2 separate regions of the Homo sapiens genome follow, and region 1 is linked to region 2. Evidence: promoter capture Hi-C in human tissues and cell types (Jung and others, 2019). All regions are on one chromosome and are shown on one strand. The core of a region is centred on a gene start or on the middle of the fragment in contact, and the rest is flanking DNA. Distances in the headings are between cores, read along the strand shown. Region 1 overlaps VWA3A (von Willebrand factor A domain containing 3A). Region 2 holds the start of IGSF6 (immunoglobulin superfamily member 6).

Region 1 (6,326 bases), core at 2,215-4,714, 450 kb after region 2:
TTGGCTGACCTGATAAGCCAGGGCACAGAAGTGCTGTAAGTCTGAAGCTGTTCCCCGCACCCCCCACAGCTGCAGTGACACATGCAACCCCCTGGGCCCGAGAGATCCCCTCATAAGGCTTTGCTTCTTCAGGGAGGAGGGCACCAATGTCGTGCAGAAAATATGTTTCTCCACCCAGATCATCCGCCATTTTGAGTCAAAGCTTTCTGAGTAAGTATGTTTCTCACTGTCCTCCCAACACCACAGAACTCAAGAATTATGTCATTTCAGTCCGGGCATGGTGGCTTATACCTGTAATCCCAGTACTTTGGGAGGCCGAGGCAGGTGGATCACTTGAGGTCAAGAGTTTGAAACCAGGCTGGCCAACATGGTGAAATCCTGTCTCTACTAAAAATATTTTTTTAAAAAATTAGCCAGTCCTGGTGGTGCATGCCTGTATCCCAGCTACCCTGTAGTCTGAGGCAGGAGAATCGCTTGAACTCGGGAGGTGGAGGTTCCAGTGAGCTAAGAACACACCATTGCACTCCAGCCTGGGCAACAAGAGCATAACTCTGTCTCAAAAAAAAAAAAAAGAAAGGAAAAAGAAAAAGAAAGAATTATGTCATTTCAGTAGCCTGGAAGTAACTTTGTTCAAACAGCAATCTCTGTGGGACCTTGGGCAATAGAGTGGGACCCTGTCTCAAAAAAAAAAAAAAAAAAAAGGAAAAACTACCACTCAGGGAGATGAGCATGTCTCTTCCCACTTCTAGCCCCAATTTCCCCTTTTCTCAAATAGAAAGGTTGGACCAGATCAGTGTCTCTCAGCCTTTTCAAATCCATAGTCTAGGGCCAGGCATGGTGGTCCATGCCTATAATCCTAGCGCTTTGAGAGACCAAGGTGGGAGGATCACTTGAGCCCAGAAGTTCGAGGCTGCAGTGAGCTATGATCACACCACTGCACTCTAGCCTGGGCAACAAAATAAGACCCTATCTCTAAAAAAATATAAAATGAAATCCATAGTCCCTTGGATGACACAGCTTCATCTGGTGTTTAATGGTTAAGAGTAATGACTTTCAATGTCAAATTGATTGCGTTCATAACTTTGCAAATATATGCCAAAAACATGCATGCATCCCCACTCCTAAACCAGATTTTGATAGCACATGTGTATTAGTCCATTTTCATGCTGCTGATAAAGACATACCCGAGACTGGGCAATTTACAGAAGAAAGAGGTTTAATGGACTCACAGTTCCACATGGCTGGGGAGGCCTCACATTCATGGCAGAAGATGAAGGAAGAGCAAAGGGACATCTTACAAGGCAGCCAGGAAAGAGAGAATGAGAATCAAGAGAAAGGGGTTTCCCCTTATAAAACCATCACTCTCAAGCCAGTTAACCAAAAGTCAATTGCTGAATGGCCATTCATGGAATGACCAGTTGCTCAAATTTCTCAAAACCATTTAACTGTAGAATTTATAGTAACTTTTATTAGGTTGGAAGCTTAAACAGGTTTTAAAGAATTCTGCAATGTCTTGGTTTATCAGTTTTAATTGTGAATCCAGTATTTTAAGGAATGTTCAAGTCTATTTAGCTAACTGGTCATTTGGCAAATTGATTTTCAGAGGACTGGCTTTCAGTAAATTGACTTTTAGCAAATTGACTTGGATAGAATCCTGTTGTTACCTTCATGTTGGAGATGGTGAAACTGGGGCTCAGAAAGGTTACCACACCTGTCCAAGGTCACACAGCTAGTAGATGGCAGAGCTGTATCTCAAACACAAACATATTTTATTATAAAGCTCATCTTCAGCTGGGCACAAGTGGCTCACACCTGTAATCACTTTGGGAGGTCAAGGCAGGAGGATCGCTTGAGTTCAGGAGTTCAAGACCAGCCTGGGAAAAATGATGAAACCCCAACTCTACAAAAAATATAAAAATTAGCCAGGTGTGGTGGTGTGCATCTATAGTTCCAGCTACTTAAAGGCTGAGGTGAGAGGATCACCTGAGCCAAGGGAGGTTGAAGCTGCAGTGAGCCATGATCGTACCACTGCACTCCAGCCTGGGCAACAGAGTGAGACCCTGTCTCAAATAAAAAGAAGAAGAAGATAAAAATAAAGCTCATCTTCTTAGCTCTATTCATAACTCATGTATCCCTTATGACTCTATCTACCACCCACTGCCCCATGATCTCATTTCCAAAGACCTTTTTTGTCCCTCTCTAGGCCCCCAAATCTCACCTGCCCCCAGTAAGAACAAGTCAATTAAATTAAAGTGACCTAGTCCTTACCTTGTGCATATGATATATGCTAGTCTTCAACCAGTCATTGCAAGCCAGGCATGCAATAAGGCAAGTTCAAGAAGGTCCCCCAGCTACTTTTCAGAAACTAGGTTTTTTGTTAATCAATCCAGTAGAAACGATTGCTTAACTGCCTCTGTTGTGCCTTTATGATCAGTTTCCAGGAGACTAGGAACAATTCCTTCTGAGAAGACACAGATTTGAGCAAGTGCAAGGGTGGTCTTCCAACTTTCTCGTAAGAACACCCTCCCCCACCCTCCACAGACCTGCCCTCACCGGGCAGAGTGAGCACAGAGTGAGTGAGCTATGTGGAGAAAGGAGACGAGGTTACATGAGCAGGTTGAAGTCTGGGAGGGCCTGATTCCACCCCTTGATCCACCAAACCGTTGTCATTTATCCTGTGCACTGTGTCACCAATAGAGCAGCACCTATACACTCGATCCCTTTCACAATCTCCTTATACCTAGTGCCCTGGCAAACAAGTATCTTCAGTTTTGTCTTTCCTCGATTGTGCCCAGGCTTGAGTGCAGTGGAACAATCATAACTCCATGCAGCCTTGAACTCCTGGGCTCAAGTGATCCTCCCACCTCAGCCTCCTGAGTAGCTGGGACTACAGGCATGCACCACCATACCCAGCAAATTTTTTTATTTTTTGTAGAGACAGGGTTTCACTAGGTTGCTTAAGCTGGTCTTGAACTCCTGGCCTCAAGTGATCCTCCCACGTCAGGCTCCTGAGTAGCCACGACTACAGGCGTGCACTACAGTGCACCTAAAAGGTTCACCACCTTCTTCCAAGAACCTATGCACATTAAAAAAAAAAACAATTATTCATACCTGCCTTTTGTGTATGTAAGTGGCTGTTGCTCAGTGATGACGCTGGCCTTGGGTGATGAGTCTTTCTGATGTCTTGACAGCACTATTGAAGTCTATCAAGAGAGAATTCAGTGGCTCACAGAAAACAGCAAGAAGGTAACGGGCATAGATTTCATTCTTTGCCCCCTTTCACTCATTCCATTTGTATTTGTTAGAACCCTTTCAGTTGCAAATGTAGACCTCCAATATAAATTGCTTAAGCTAAAAAAAGGCATTTACTAACCTAAGTAAATGAAAACCCCAGCCACAGCTGGATCCAGGTGCTCAGATGATGTCACCTCTATGCCTGTGGGCTCTGCTTTCCTGAGTTGGTTTTATTCTCAGGACATCTCTCTTCAGGCATAGGAAGGTGGTGATCAGCAGCTCCAGTAAAAAGGAACTTCACTTCCTGTTCCCTGCACAACTTCCAAATCCTGGGACTGACTCTCATTGACCAATTTACACCAATCATCATAGCCAAGGAGATGAAATATACTATCACTATTTGACTAGGCCTGGAACTAGTGCTGACTTCTGGGGCAAAAATAAAATAAAATAAAAGACAGGGGGGAAGGGGAAAGAGACTGGATTAGCCCCCCAGCCCTCATGGACTGAAAAAGAGAGACAGATGGTTGCATGTGGAAGGCCAGAGCACTGTTACCAGAAGGGGGAATGGGTGCTGGGCAGGTGAGAATGCAGATGTGCACTGGGCATTTGACTTTAGACCCGCAATGAGATTTAGAAGACTAAGGCTGATCATCTGGATATCACTTTTCTTAAAAGTTTGATTAAGGGCTGGGCATGGTGGCTCAGGCCTGTAATCCCAGCACATTGAGAGGCCTAGGTAGGTGGATCACCTGAGGTTGGGAGTTCAAGAGCAGCCTGGCCAACATGGTGAAACCTCATCTCTACTAAAAATACAAAAAATTACCTGGGCGTGGTCGTGCAAGCCTGCAATCCCAGCTATGCAGGAGGCTGAGGCAGGAAAATCGCTTGAACTCAGGAGGTGGAGTTTGCAGTGAGCCGAGATCACGCCATTGCACTCTAGCCTGGGAGACACAGTGAGACTCCCTCTCAAAACAAACAAACGAAAAGAAAACCCACAAAAGTTTGATTAAGGGCTAGGCATAGTGGTGCACACCTGTAGTCCCAGCTACTTGAGAGGCTGAGGCAGAAGGATTTCTTGAGCCCAGGAGCCTCAAGGCTGCAGTGAGCTATGATTTTGCCACTGCACTCCAGCCTGGGCAACAGAGCAAGACTTGTCTTTTAAAAAAAAAAAATTTTTTTTAATTAAATGTTTTTCTCAGAACCCAAGGGTAGAAGAGTGACCATGGGCAAATGAACACTTTGATTTGCTTTCTTGTTTGTTTTAGCTTAATTGCCATCAACTGGCACTTTTCTGGCTTCCCGTTTGCTTCCACCTTAGGCACAATCTTCAGCTCTTGCCTTAAACCCTGGGAAAAGCAGATGCTAAAAGTCATGCTCCCTACTCCCAGTCCCCACCTCTACCCAGATGCAGATGCTAAAAGTCATGCTCCCTACTCCCAATCCCCACCTCTACCCAAGACTAGTGGGTAACAACATAGTGCTAAGCCTGCCTGTCCCGCCAATTCCAGGCTGTGGTCTTCACCTCAGATCCAGAACCTCCTTCACTTGCTTGGACGAGTTGAGTCAACAGATGCTTGTCTGCAGCTATAGCTGGACCCCTCTGGTTGCCCATGGTAACAGGCAGAGAGACCCCACGGGAATGAAATCCTCCCATACTCCATAGGCATCCACGTAGGGCATGCTGCTCTCACCCCCCGACCTCCACTACCCCATCCTCGCACCTTTGTCAAAGTGGGCGGGGATTGATAGCCCCTTCATCCTGCCACCCCTTTCTGACGGAGCTACAGAGAAACCATGGAAGAGCCCAGGGAAACGATCACCTGTAAATCAGCTTACCAGGTCCCTGGGTGTTGAGGCAGGCAGCCTGAGGTGATGGCCAGATAATCGCTGGTCCCTGTTCCTGTTCTGCTCTGTCACTAAGGCCCTAGAAAGTGGCCTCGCTTCTCTGGATCTGTGTCTGCAGAGGATAAAAGGAGAAGTTATAAACTAGTGGCATGCAGGCCAAATCTGGCCCACAGCCATTCTGTTTAGGCTCCCTAATTTTAACTATTTTTCAAATTAGTTGCCAAGATTTTTTAAATCCTGGTATTTCACTTTTATGTCTGCTATCAGACTTCTCTTGAAAAATGAGAATATCTGGTATTACCAGGCTCCAATTGCCTCTTATGTACTTGTCCAGTTATTTCTATGGAATAAATGTCTAGAACTTCAATGGCTAGGTTTAGGGAATGAATGTTTTCAATTCCAAAAGCTGTAAAGCCCTCATGGCAGCTTGTTTTTAATTTAAAAAAATAGAACTGGCTCTAGATTTCAACTTCTTGCCTCCAGATTGGCAATACCCTAGAATATTTGGGTCATGAATTCAACAAACATGTATTGAGTGATTATTGTATATCAGGCACTGTTCTAGGATTGAGACTACCAACATGACCAGTACTTGCTGAAGGAATGGTTCGCTGTCGGGGGAAAAAACATGACCAATACTAAGGTCCTGCCTTCATGGAGCTTACGTGCTGTAAAAAGAAACAAAGCTGAGTAAGGGAACAGAGGGTGGAACAGGACTATTTAAATGGAATGGTTGAGGCCGGGCGTGGTGGTGCACACCTGTAATCCCAGCACTTTGGGAGGCCGAGGCAGATGGATCACTTGAGGTCAGTAGTTTGAGACCAGCCTGGCCAAAATGCTGAAACCCCGTCTCTACTAAAAACACAAAAATTAGCCAGGCGTGGTGATGGGCGCCTGTAATCCCAGCTACTAGAGAGGCTGAAGCAGAAGAATTGCTTGAACCCAGGAGGCAGAGGTTGCAGTGAGCCGAGATCGTGCCACTGCACTCCAGTCTGGGAGACAGAGTGAGACTCCCTCTCAAAAATAAAATAAAAAATAAATAAATGGAATGGTTGAAGATACTCACTCTGAAGAGGAGGCATTTGAACAGGCACCTAAAGAAAGTGTGGGGGTAAGCCCTACCAATATCTTGGGGAGAATGTTCCAAGCAGAGGAGACAGCAAGTCCAAAAGTCTTGAGGCAGGAACGAGCTTGGTATGTTCCAGAAGCAGCACATGGGCCAGTGCAGCAAGCACAGAGTGAGC
Region 2 (6,254 bases), core at 1,715-4,214:
TCAGATAATGTTTTTATTTTTATTTGTAAAATTATTTTTAAAAAGTGGACGATTCCATTATTTACACATTTTTATTTTTGAGATAGGGTCCCACTGTGTCGCCCAAACTGGAATGCAGTGGTGTGATCTTGGCTAACTTACTGTAGCCTTTGTCTTCTGGGCTCAAGCAATCCTCTCACTGCAGCCTCTGGAGTAGCTGAGACTATAGGTGTGCACCACCACGCCTGGCTAATTTTTTTATTTTTAGTAGAGACAGGGTTTTGCGATGTTGGCCAGCCTGGTCTTAAACTCCTGGGCTCAAGCAATCCACTCGCCTCAGCCTTCCAAATTGGGTAGTGTTTTTAAAAGGGAAGCCAAAGAGCCAGGCGTGGTGGTGTGGCCATTAGTCACAGCTACTCAGGAGGCTGAGACCGGAGGCTGATTGAGCCCAGGAATTCCAGGCTGCAGTGAGCTGTGATGGCACCACTGCACTCCAGCCTGGGCAGCATTGTGAGTCCCTGTCTCTATTAAAGGAATAGAGTCTGGACGTGCACTCCAGCCTGGGCAGCATTGTGAGATCCTGTCTCTATAAAAGGAATAGAGGCTGGGCATGGTGGCTCACGCCTGTAATCCCAGCACTTTGGGATGCCGAGGCGGGCAGATCACCTGAGGTCAGGCGTTCGAGACTAGCCTGGCCAACATGGTAAAACCCCATCTTTACTAAAAATACAAAAAATTAGCCAGGTGTGGTGGTGGACGCCTGTAATCCCAGCTACTTGGGAGGCTGAAGCAGGAGAATCGCTTGAACGTAGGAGGTGGAGGTTGCAGTGAGCTGAGATTGTGCCACTGCACTCTAGCCTGGGTGACAGAGTGAGACTCTTGTCTCAAAAAAAAAAAAAAAAAAAATAGAGGTTGGGGTGGCGGGGATAGCTGACTTTCAACACTTTTCTTTAAAAACTAGTAGTATAGGATAAAAACAGGTATTTGTAACTTTGGAATTTCATATCTCTACTTATTTCCACCTTCTTCCCAATTAGGCTATGTGTGGGAGAAAACCAATTGTAATGATTTCCTCTGTGAGCAGGAACTTGTGATGAAACTGTGGTTCCCTCCCCCAACCAGTTAGGCAACCTATTAACAAAAAAGAGAAGTTTGGATATGTCACACCACAGCCTGCTTCTGTGAATGATTTCTTTTAAGAATCCTCATATTCTAGGAATTGTTTTTTAAACACAGTATCCAATGAAAAGGTTGAAGATTTATTTCCTCCATGGAGGGAATAGAAAGATTATTCTTATTATTTTAAAAAACCATATTGAGGCTGGGCATGGTGGCTCATGCCTGTAATCCCAGCATTATGGGAGGCCGAGGCGGGCGGATCACGAGGTCAGGAGATCGAGACCATCCTGGCTAACACGGTGAAACGCTGTCTCTACTAAAAATACAAAAAATTAGCCGGGTGTGGTGGCAGATGCCTGTAGTCCCAGCTACTCGGGAGGCTGAGGCAGGAGAATGGCGTGAACCCGGGAGGCGGAGCTTGCAGTGAGCCGAGATCTTGCCACTGCACTCCAGCCTGGGTGACAGAGCGAGACTCCGTCTCAAACAAACAAAAAAGCCATATTGAAAGTAGGAAGAGAACTAATTCTTGACATTTAAACAAAGCTGTCTCTCTATCTAGTAAGTAAGAAGTAAGTAAATGTCTTGCTCTGTTGCCCAGGCTGGAGTGCAGTGGCACAATCACAGCTCCCTATAGCCTGAAAGTCCTGGGCTCAAGTGATCCTCCTGCCTCAGCCTCCCAGGTGGGTGGGACTGCAGGTGCAGTGCAGGTGCCATCACGCCCAGCTATTTTTTTTTCTTGTGTAGAAATGGGGGTCTCATTATGTTGTTCATGCTGGTCTTGAACTCCTGAGCTCAAGTGATCCTCTCACCTTGGCCCCCAAAGTGCTGGGATTACAGGCATGAACCACCACGCCCAGCCCAAAGCTTTATTATATTAGATTTCAAATTTCTAACATATCAAAGTAGCGAAGTAGTACAGTCAACCCCCTGCCATCACATGGCTTCGACCCAATCTTGTTTCTTTTCTCCTCCCACCTACTCCCTCACTCCCATATTATTTTAGAGCAAATCCCAGCCATTTTATCTGCATCTTTCAGAATATATCTCTAAAAGACAGGAATTCTTCTTTAAAATAATGCTAATTAAAATAGTCTATGAAAGTAATATATACTTATTAGCAAAAAACAGGTTATTAAAAGTAGAAGCAAAAAGTCACCCATAGTCCTTTTGCCTGAAATAACTCCCATTAACATTTTGATATATTTCTTCACAGATGAGAAAAAATTAAGAACTTTCCCCCCTTCCCTGCCCTATAATCCAAATTGTGTGGGCAAATCTGAGATTACTAGATGTATTGGAAATCCTTTCTCTTTCATAGATAAAAAAACAGAAGTAGACAGAATTTTAAAAATAGATATACTATGGGATGGCTATTGGAGTCATGGCAGTTTTTTTTTTCTTAAATGAAAAGTACTTTTATAGAAATTGTTCTTTGAAAATATTCAGCAAATAATCATTTATTGCTTTCTATGTGCAGATCAAGTTTGTATGATAATTAAATTATTGATAACTTATACCTACGATTTTAAGAATATTTTCAACCCTTTGGTCAGATTGTCTCCAATTAGCATAATAGCAAAGAGACTTTTCAAGGTTAATATGAAACTTTTTCTCAGCTATTTTTTTATTGTCTATTTCTCAGGGGAAAAAGGAAACTTATCCTCTTAGGCAGTTTTCATAATGTTATACATTTAAAAATTAATCTGAAGGAGCTTAAAATATAAATGCATTAGGTGAAAAATAGCAGTTGATTTAAATAAAATGAAGGAGGAGAAGAAAAAGAACCTTACCGACACAAAATAGAATGAGATTGGTTTGCAGATGGCGAGCGATGTTGCTTCTGCTCGCAGTCCCCATTTCTGTGTATGCCGGGGCGGGTTGGGGTGTGTATTTGAAAGGAAAGTTGGCTTTCTTTTTTCAGAAGGGAAGAAGAGCTGAAGAGAGGAACCTCTTATGAAGGAACCATAATCAGGAACTTTTTGAAATTGTGCAAGGATGGCTTCACCATTTAACATTGAGATTTTGGCCTGGAGCACATTTAGAAATGTGCATATCTTTTTTTTTTCCATGGATTTTACAGTTGTCATAGGTGTTAGATGTTTCTGGGTGAGATTTTGATTTACACCTAGCACATATTTCCAGGAAGGAGTATTGTTTGACAAATAATTCGTACTTGGATTTTTCAGAACAGTTCAGTCACTGTCTAGGGTACCTGCTCTGGGTGCCACTCTGGGCCAGTAACTGCTGGGAACAAAGAACAGCAGAAGGAGAAGTGGCTTTGTGTAGAGATGAGAAAAGTTAGTAAACAACACATTCTAATGCAGCGAATAAATAAATTGTCTGTTATTAACTTTTTGTACTCCAGTTTTGAATCCAAAGACACCTGCCTTCCCCCCTTTTTTGACAGGGTCTCTATCACCCAGGCTGGAATGCAGTGGCAAGATTGCAGGTCATTGCAGCCTCAGCTTCCTGAGTAGCTGGGACTACAGGCATGCACCACCACCCCTGGCTAATTTTTTTTTTTTTTTGTAGATTCTGTGTTGTCTAGGCTAGTCCTGCCCTCAAGCGATCCCCCTGCCTTGGCCTCCCAAAGTGTTAGGATTACAGGTGTGAGCCACCATGCCTGGCCCAAAGACCCCCTTTTAATGTGTTGAGAAACAAATATGTGGGCCCTCTGTCCTCTGTGTCCTCTCCCCCAGCACTTAGTGGTGATTCAGTAAGGGTCTTCTTTGTAAAGCAGCAGAAACAGACTCAGGCTGACTTAAAAGGAAATTTATGCAAACATTTGAAGGTAGATCCTAGAGTCACTGGGAGGGCTAGTGAATCTTGTGTGGGGTCCACAGCCAGGAAGAATGCCTCAAATCACACCATAAACAGGTCTGAAGAGGATGCTACTGCCACTGCCAAACACTAGGTGCCATCAGCCCTGTTGTCAGCATCGCTCAACCACTGCCCCAGCCCCTTGGTCTCACTGCCATTGCTCCACCCCCAGAGAAGGAGAAGCTCACATCCCCACTACTCTGGGTCACTGGCTCTCCATTCCAGGGCATGGGCAAGTGTGCCTGGCTTAGGCTGCGTGCCAGTGCCTCAGCTGCACGGCAGGCCAGGAAAGCGGCTCCCAGGCCTTGTGTCTCTCCCAGACTCTGGGCAGGCAATTCCCCAGACATGGGAAGAGCGTCATCTGCACCACTGAAAATTATGAAAAATCTCCCCACCATGATATGATGTCTGTGCCCTTGGCATCTGCTCATGATATATTTTCTCATTAACAGAAAGTTATTCTCAGTCTGTTTTGTTTTTTTTTTTTTTTTTTTTTTTGAGACAGAGTCTCGCTCTGTCGCCCAGGCTGGAGTGCAGTGGCACGATCTTGGCTCGCTGCAAGCTCCGCCTCCCGGGTTCACACCATTCTCCTGCCTCAGCCTCCCAAGTAGCTGGGACTACAGGTGCATGTTGCCATGCCCAGCTAATTTTTTTGTATTTTTTTTAGTAGAGACGGGGTTTCACTGTGTTAGTCAGGATGGTCTTGATCTCCTGACCTCGTGATCCGCCCACCTCGGCCTCCCAAAGTGCTGGGATTACAGGCATGTGCCACCACGCCCGGCCTCAATCTGGTTTTAACACTTCAACAGATGTATGTAGTTTTTGTATCACCATAGCACCTAAAAAGTACCCCCAAAGTTAAATATACTGTCATCTCTGTGTGTGTGTCTGTAGTCAGTGCCAGGTTTGTATGTGAATTTGAGGACCTTCCCTAGTCCCCTTGTCCCCCAGGCATCTCCTGCTCATAGGTTTGGAAATGACTGATAGAGGCTTCATCTCTAGTCCAAGAAATGCTGGACGGTGTATCCATCCTACTGTTCCATCTCTCTCTGGTCCTGGAGCTTAATGTTTATGAAATTGTTCTGAAAAGGCAAAGAATGAGTCAACTTCCCTAGAAAAACTCCCCAATGATCTGCTTTTCTAAATTAAAATCCTTCATGAGCCTGTTTTTATTTTCAGCCTAATAAATCTCTCTAGGTAGTAAGTTGCATAAGTTTACTATGCCAGTGGTATTTTCTTGCATTTGTCCAAAACTGTCCTTCAGATATTACATGTTGCTCTCTGTTTCAGTATTCCAGCATTTAATGACCAGTTTTCCAAACCCATTAACCATTACACCCTGCAGTCAGTCTATTGGCAGATACTACCCAAAACTGTCAGAGAAGATAACAGTGTGGGGCCTTGGATCCAGACAAACCTGGGCTTACATTTCCATACTGACACTCATTAACCTTGCAAGCGTGGGCAAGTTCTTCACCCCTTCTGAGTCTGTTCTTTATCTGCCCACCTGTCTCAAAGAGTACCTGGGAAGTACAAAAGAGGTAACTCATGAAGCCCTCAGGCTTGGAACGTACCAAGTCCTTGGTAGATATGGCTCCTCCCTGCTTCCCTCTTTAAATCACTTGTTTGTTCAAGAATTTAACTGAATGTTCTTATTTGTATTAGTAGGTGGCAAGTGGGAGAAACCATCAGAAATTTTGGAAATCAAAGGACAGAACTGGGAAGAACAAGTGAATAGTCTGCCTGAAGTTTTCAGAAAAGCTGGTTTTGTTATCGAAGCTTTCACCAGACTACCATACCTGTGTGAAGGCGACATGTATAATGACTACTACGTTCTGGATGACGCTGTCTTTGTTCTCAAACCAGTATAAACACGTGGAGGTCGAAGTCTTCAGAGTCCGCACCCTCCGGGATGTGCCCTTGGAAGAGGGTCTGTGTTCACAATTACGTGAAGGGAGGACCCTTGGGGACCGCCATTCTAAATATCATGTAGGAATTTAAAAAGCCAAAATACTAATTATTTCTTTGTAGTGTGTAAAGGAATGTTTTTAAAAGACAAAAACCCAACTCTTTGTGGATTTTTATCAACTCTTTACTCAGAGCCACTCTCCAATGCAGGTCACACTCCAATTATGATGGAAGATATTTTTTATACTTAATTGCAGTAGGGACTCATTCCCAGACAAAGCAATAGTCACGACTTCATGGAACCAATCAATGGATTGTTTTTTGAAGACTGGCAATAAAGCTGTCCATTCAATTCCAAATACTGGTTTTAAGGTATAGCCACTGATATTCTTTCATGTTTAGAAATTCTTTCTGTTATTATTCAAGAA

Evidence for each region. Contacts are between HindIII fragments. The study calls those that stand out against the background at their distance.
Region 1: a contact is called between a fragment that was not itself captured here and the fragment with the promoter of IGSF6 in region 2, in 1 of the 25 tissues and cell types used here (lymphoblastoid cells).

Annotation. Positions count from the first base shown.
Region 1 is chr16:22,100,284-22,106,609 of GRCh38, forward strand. VWA3A (von Willebrand factor A domain containing 3A) reads left to right here. Exons shown (of 34, transcript NM_173615.5): 4 at 1-35; 5 at 133-210; 6 at 3,192-3,246. Among named protein-coding and RNA genes, the nearest start is that of VWA3A, 11 kb to the left of the region's middle. The HindIII fragment of the contact is 8,634 bases long and covers 1-6,326 here.
Region 2 is chr16:21,649,644-21,655,897 of GRCh38, forward strand. It overlaps IGSF6 (immunoglobulin superfamily member 6), which reads right to left and starts at 2,965. Exons shown (of 6, transcript NM_005849.4): 1 at 2,889-2,965. The coding sequence starts at 2,955. METTL9 (methyltransferase 9, His-X-His N1(pi)-histidine) reads left to right here. Exons shown (of 5, transcript NM_016025.5): 5 at 5,584-6,254. The coding sequence ends at 5,789. The HindIII fragment of the contact is 6,081 bases long and covers 866-6,254 here.